Linked DNA regions of Homo sapiens: region 2 is linked to region 1. Evidence: promoter capture Hi-C in 16 types of primary human blood cells and fetal thymus (Javierre and others, 2016). All regions are on one chromosome and are shown on one strand. Each heading gives the region's core, a stretch centred on a gene start or on the middle of the fragment in contact. The rest is flanking DNA. Distances are from core to core; before and after follow the strand shown. Region 1 holds the start of HSDL1 (hydroxysteroid dehydrogenase like 1). Region 2 overlaps NECAB2 (N-terminal EF-hand calcium binding protein 2).

Region 1 (3,533 bases), core at 93-2,592:
TCTCGAACTCCTGACTTCAGGTGACCCACCTGCCTCTGCCTCCCAAATTGCTGGGATTACAGGCGTGAGCCACCGTGCCTGGCCATGAAGGTTATCTTTCAAGTCCATTCTGGCAAACTTTGGTGAGGGGATCACACACTGACCCCAGAACCAAGTCTTCATTCGGACTCTCTACCCTAGGTCAGGCACTGGACTAGACTCCAAATTCAATCAAGATGTCTTGCCCTGACACAACATGCAGTCTGGAGGGAGAGAAAGCCTTTGATCTTACATAGTGATAGCAATAAAGGGACACATTTAAAGCATCAAAGTTGGGACCAGGGAGAATAGCGTGGTGGGTTAGGGCTGGGGCTCTGGAGACCCAGACTGTCTGGGCCTGAGTCTGGTGGGTTTTGTTTGCTTGTTTGTTTGTTTGTTTGTTTGAGACGGAGTCTCCCACTGTCGTCCGGGCTGGAATGCAATGGCGAGATCTTGGCTCACTGCAACCTCCGCCTCCCGGGTTCAAGCGATTCTCCTGCCTCAGCCTCCCAAGTAGCTGAGACTACAGGCGCCCGCCACCACGCCCAGCTCATTTTTTGTATTTTTAGTAGAGACAGGGTTTCACTATGTTGGCCAGGCTGGTCTCGAACTCCTGACTGACCTGATGATCCGCCCGCCTCGGCCTCCCAAAGTGCTGGAATTACAGGCGTTGAGCCACCGCACCCGGCCAAGTCTCTTCTGTCACTGACTAGCCGAGGGTTATCTGTTTGGTGCAAGTTTTGTAACCTCTTAAGTATGTTTCCTCCTCAGTACGAAATGGCGAGAGAAGCCCCTACTGCAGAGCGTTGCTTGCTACCATTATTATTATTGTTATTATTTGGCTGTGAAGATCGGGTATGTGGTGTGGGAAGGGGGCTGGAGCGCCTAGCCGTGTCTGCCCCTCGCCCACCGCCCTCCCTGGGGGGCAGTCGGCACCTTCCTTGCAGCCCCCTCGGCCTGCGCTCCCGTGGTCACCCGCAGACTCCTCCACGCCGGGCTCCTGCGCGCAATCCAGCTCTGCTGCACCACCTGTCGCAGGCTCCGAGGGCTCAGGGTGCATGTTTACTTCGGCGACACCGAACGCCCCGCAGCTTTGGGGGGCCCAGGTTCGCGGCGGACGTCGCTACGGCCCCAGCCCAGCCAGAGAGTACCCTCTTTCCTTCTTCGCCAGCCGCTGGCGCCCTAGTCTTTACAGCCCAACGCTTCCCCGGTCGCCCAGGCAACCGCTGCGCACGCGCACTCGGGACGGACCGGCGCGCTGGGGACGCCGGGGGGTGGGGGCGGGTCTGAGACGGCTCCGCCCCCGGCGCGTACGCGGGTCACGTGAGGGCGCGGCGCGGCAGCAGCTCCGGCGGCCGAGACGGGGGCGGCGGCCGCGCGGGTCTGGCGGGACCGGTTTGGAAGACTTTGCCGGCCTGCAGGTACCGCGCCCCCCGCGCCCTGGGCGCCCTCTCGCGGTCCTTTCGCCCCAGACCCCTCCTCGGTCCCCTCAGCGCCAGCCGGCTGCTTGGCGAGACCCCTCTGAGCTCTCACCACGCCCCCCAGGCCCCGGGCCCCCTCCGCTGCATCCGGCCCCGAAGCCCCTTGGCGCCCCTGACCCCAGGAAATCTTCGTCCCTCCGTCCCGTGAGACTCCTTCCTTCAGACCAAAAAGCCCCAGCCCCGCCCCTTCACATCTCAGAGCCCCCCTTCCCCCGGCTCCATCCTCACGCCCCCCGCCGCGGCGCTGCACCCCTGTTCTCTCTCTTCCCCCGGGCCTTGCCCCCCAAACCGCGAACCCCGTTGTCGCCGGCGCATGCCCTGCCCTCCCTGCAGCCTCTCACCCGGCTCCTCCCCCGAGCGGCCCCAGCAATCGCCTCCTTTGTCGGTGCTTCTTTATTCTCATTTCTGAACGATTTGGTTTGAGTTGTTGTTGCCGTGTTTTTCTAAAATGGAAATATGCAGCGGTCGTGGGTTCAGCCAGGATTTCCGAGTTTGCTCGTGTTGACTGGGCCTTGCCGGGTGCTGGAGGGGAAGGGCTGGGAAGAAGAACCAGGCAGGTCCCCGTTCTGAACGTGCCACCCAGACGCAGCCCCAGAAACCGGATCGCTGCAGCGCCCCTCGGCGATCCCAACATGATGTGTACAGGTGACTGCGAGGCAGTCGGGGGGTCTCACAGTGGGCTCCCTGGACAGGACTCTGCGCCTTGCTATACCTCCATCTGAATTGCAGGTAGCCCCTTTCTGAGTTGTGGGGTCTTGGGTGTGCGACTTTACATCTATAAGACTCAATTTCCCCATCTATAAACGGGAGAGTCTGACTGCGCTTTATAAGATTAATGAGAGAATAAAGTGAGACAATAGGAATAAAGCACTTAGCAGAGTCTTTTGCATAAAGTGAGCTCTCAATTTTACTCTGACCGCCACAGGAGAGAGAGAGAGAGAGAGAGGGAGGGAGGGAGAGGGAGAGGGAGGGGGAGGGGGAGGGTGTTGATTGATTGATTGATTCAGACAATCTCGCTCTGTCGCCCGGGCTGTAGTGCAATGGTGCCTGCGATCTCAGCTCCTGCTACCTCTGCCCGCCATCCCGCACCCCGGGCCCAAGTGATTCTCCTGCCTCAGCCTTCCGAGTAGCTGGGATTACAGGCACGTTCTACCACACCCAGCTAATTTTTTTTTTTTTTTTTTTAGTAGAGACGGGGTTTCGCTGTGTTGGTCAGGGTAGCCTTGAACTCCTGGCCTCAAGTGATCTGCCCGCCTTGGCCTCCCAAAGTTCTGGGGTTACAGACATGAGCCACTGTACCCGGCCAAGTTTGTGGTTTTAATCACTGCTGGAATATTCTAGGGCAACAGAGTTGAACATATTGGTGCTACTTTTTTTTAAAGTAGGTTTTCAAAAATCGAAATGACTTACGCATGACATAAAATTTATCATTTTAGCCATTTTACAGTGTATAACTCAGTAGTTCTTGCTATAGTCACAATGCTATGCAACCATCACCAGTAACTAATTCCAGAACATTTAATCACCTACAAAAGAAACCCCAACCCCATTAACAGTCATACCTCTTTTCTCCCCCTGTCCCTCAGCAGCCCTAAGTTATCTTCTGTCTCTATGGATTTGCTTATGCTGGACATTTCATACAAGTGGAAACATACAACATACGGCCTTTTGTATTTGGTTTCTGTCCTTTAGCATAATGTTTTCAAAGTTTATCCATGTTGTAGTATGTATCAGTACTTCATGCTTTTTTATGGCTGAATAATACTCCTTTGTGTGGATAACACCACATTTTGCTTATTCATTCATTTGTTGATGGACATTTTGTTTGTTTCTGCCTTCTGGCAGTTGTGAGTAGGCCACTGTGAACATGCAAGCAGGAGTTTTTATGTGAGCAAAAGTTTCTAATTATCTTGGGTATCTGCCTAGGAGTGGGGTACTCTGAATATTTTAATTCTTACTGCATAAATACAGACATGATGGTGAAGAGTGTTGGATCTTGGATGAGAATCCAGGTTTCTAATTCCATGTTGCTGC
Region 2 (3,336 bases), core at 33-2,532, 170 kb after region 1:
TTCTTGGGCTCACCATGCACTCAACATTTTCCATGCGTTCAACAAATATAGAGTATCTGCCCCCTGCCAGTGAATTTTCTCTCAATTTACATGGCCACCTGGAGGCAGGTGCTATTTAAGATAACCCACTGTGAGCAACTTGTCCCATGTCACACCATCGGTATGAAGTGGATCCAAAAACCAGCAGCTGGATGAGCCACCACTCCATAGCTTCCAAACGCCAAGTGGTCTCTGCATGCTCCCAACCCCAATCCCAGCCCCTAAGCCCTGACTCTCTCAGCACTGTTCTTAGAGTACAGAAGAACCCTTTCTTCTCCGCCCCATCTATGTGGCAAACTTCAGGTCCTTCCCTGAGGCAGCATGAGATGGCTGCCAATGGCCGGCATGAGGTTCTCAGTTACCTCCTCTCCCAGGCCACAGATGCAGCCATCTAGATGCCAAGCCATGCAGGAAGGAGGTGCCAGGCCTGGAGGTGCCAACGCTCTGGCCAGAGGCTGTGCTTCTGAGGTGGAGCTCCACAGAGGGGCCTCCACAGCTCCTCTGTGGAGGGGCTCTGTGGAGGGATGGGTGGGACACATGCCACCAGTCCCACCCATCGCCTCACCTTTTCCCTTCACTTGCAGTTGCTCTGGGGACACTTTTGGCCCTACCAGGAAGGTCTTGTGGGTTTGGATCAGATTGGGCCACCAGGGGAGGTGGCTTAAGAACATCAGGGACTCTGGGAGGCGGTCCCTAAGCTTCCACCCTCAGCTCCTTCCACCTGAACAGACCTGCTGAGCAAATGCCAGCAAGCTCATCCCCCACCTGCCCTGCAGCCACCTCCCCCCTCCTCAAGGATCTGTTCCTCCTTAAGAGAAACTATGTGAGTGGCATGGAGGTCAGAGACAAGAGGGAGCCCATGACAGTTCCTGGCCCCCAGCCTCTCTGCATAAACCCCTGGCATTACTTCCAGAGGATCTGCATTCAAAGCTGGGTGCTTGGGACAAGGGCCCTGAGAGTCCACATGGCACCTTCCTATGGATTAGAAAAAGACTCTCCTTTCTCTGCCGAGAGGATGAGACCAGTGTCAGTGCACATGTGTTGAAAGCGGATTGCAGCCTGGATTTGAAACCCTCCATTTCCTCGGGTGGGTGCCCTTGTGCAGCGCACAACCTGCCTAACCCGACATGGCAGACGTACTTGGGTTGAGAATGAGTCATTCTTAAACTTTAAAGGCTCCAGTGCTTCTGTCTGTGCTCCCAGCAGCTCTGCTGGAGCTCAACACAGGGTGAGAGCATAAGCTCAGGAGAGGGGGGGTCCTCAGATCTTGCCAAGGTTTCATGCCACCACTTTTCTCTTTAACCCCATAGAGCATAAAGTATCAGAGACCGGTAAAGAATATGAACGTGTGGGCACGGGGGGCTAGGGCCAATATCCCAAGATGCCCCCATCGCAGCTCAGATTTCAAGGTTACAGTGGGAAGAATTTCTGTCTTTCAAAGGAAAGGCCAAAAAAACCCCAATCCAACCACACATGCACAAACCAAAGACCCAAAACCTAACAACTAAAAGTCCGCAAAGTCAGCCACGAGATAAGTGAAATCGAAGTTGTTGCTTTCTGTGTTCTGTGACAGAGGATGCCTTCCGAGTGTCTTCGGCAAGCCTGAAGATAAAACCCAGGAATCCCAGTGTGGAGTCACACCACACGTGGAGTACCTTCCACGGACTCACTCCTTTAGTCTTCTTAACACTCACGACACAGGTAGTACTACCACTTCCATGTTAGAGAGGGGTAAACTGAGGCACAGAGCCCTTAGGGTACTTGCCTAGGTCCTACAGCTGAAGCTTGAACCCAGGCCATCTGGCTCCCAAGTCCAGGCTCTCAACCTAATCCAGGGGTAGGATCTTGTGGCGACATCGCCACCTACCCAGCAGGGGGTGGGTGCTGGCTCAGGCACCCCCACTTTGGGTGAGGGGCAGTCACCATGGGCATGACAGGGGTTGTGAGCCCCAATCCCAGCCTCCCTCTGGCTGGCTCATCTCCCCACGTGCCTGTCCAGGTACCTTGGGCCCCCTCTGCACACAGGGAGAGCAGGCAGCCAGAGACCAGCAAGGTGCCCCCTCGGCACACAGGGAGAGCAGGCAGACAGAGGCCAGCAAGGTGCCCCCTCACTAAGCTTTCGGCTGACATTTATCCTGAACGCCTGATCACGGCCCTAATGAATTCACTAATGAGGAAAAAACATGCCCTACGTAGGCCCCCAGTCCAATTAGACAGGCCAAGCGGGCCCGCGCTGGCACTTTTGCCAGAGACCCCAAGCGGGCCGTTTGCAGGTGTCTTTGCTAATTAGCACAAACTCACTCTCTGTCTCCATGACCTTTCAAATGCCAAGAGCCTGTCAGCCTGTCAGCGTCCATGTCCCTGAAGGGAAATGCTGTCTGCCACTCAGCCCTCTGCCACCCCCTGAGTTTATGTCCCAGGCTGCCAGTCAGGCCCCTCATGCTAACCTTCCCATAGGGACTGGGCATCCGGTATCCAGCTCAGCCAAACAAGTCTCTGTCACAGGAGCCACCCTGACAGGGCAGCCCTGAGCCTTTGTTCCTGTAATCTCTAAGTCCTAAGGGCAGCCTGGGGGGTCCTTTGAGTTTGCACCCCATCTCCCGCTCCCCTGAGGCATCCCATCCATCCTTCCTGTGGACACGTGAGGCAGGGCTAGCGTCAGTGTTGAGCAGTCCTGTGTGTGCTTGTGGGCCTATCGGCCTCCACATCTGCACCCCCTGCACACCTGTTCTCATCCCTGCACACCTGTTCCCATCCCCGCACCCACACCTCCCTGCACACCTGCTCTCATCCCTGCACACCTGTTCCCATCCCCGCACCCACGCCTCCCTGCACACCGGTTCACATTCCCGCACCAACACCTCCCTGCACACCTGTTCCCATCCCCGCACCAACACCTCCCTGCACACCTGTTCCCATCCCTGCACCCACACCTCCCTGCACACCTGCTCTCATCCCTGCACACCTCCCTGCACACCTGCTCTCATCCCTGCACACCTGTTCTCATCCCTGCACCCACACCTCCCTGCACACCTGCTCTCATCCCTGCACACCTCCCTGCACACCTGCTCTCATCCCTGCACACCGGTTCACATTCCCGCACCCACACCTCCCTGCACACCTGTTCCCATCCCTGCACCCACACCTCCCTGCACACCTGTTCCCATCCCCGCACCCACGCCTCCCTGCACACCTGCTCTCATCCCTGCACCCACACCTCCCTGCACACCTGCTCTCATTCTTGGATCCACACCTCCTTGACACCTATTCTCACCCCTACACTCATTCCTCTTTCCC

What was found. Contacts are between HindIII fragments. The CHiCAGO score rates a contact against its expected background, and 5 or more counts as called.
Region 2: a fragment that was not itself captured here is called in contact with the fragment with the promoter of HSDL1 in region 1 in 1 of 17 cell types (M0 macrophages); the score reaches 5.0 in M0 macrophages.

Annotation. Positions count from the first base shown.
Region 1 is chr16:84,142,986-84,146,518 of GRCh38, reverse strand. It overlaps HSDL1 (hydroxysteroid dehydrogenase like 1), which reads left to right and starts at 1,342. Exons shown (of 6, transcript NM_031463.5): 1 at 1,342-1,439. DNAAF1 (dynein axonemal assembly factor 1) reads right to left here and starts at 1,211. Exons shown (of 12, transcript NM_178452.6): 1 at 955-1,211. The coding sequence starts at 1,078. RefSeq lists silencers at 1,158-1,607, 1,768-1,817, 1,868-1,917. The HindIII fragment of the contact is 7,366 bases long and covers 1-3,533 here.
Region 2 is chr16:83,974,794-83,978,129 of GRCh38, reverse strand. All of the region lies in intron 2 of NECAB2 (N-terminal EF-hand calcium binding protein 2), which reads right to left. Among named protein-coding and RNA genes, the nearest start is that of NECAB2, 8.2 kb to the right of the region's middle. The HindIII fragment of the contact is 1,086 bases long and covers 740-1,825 here.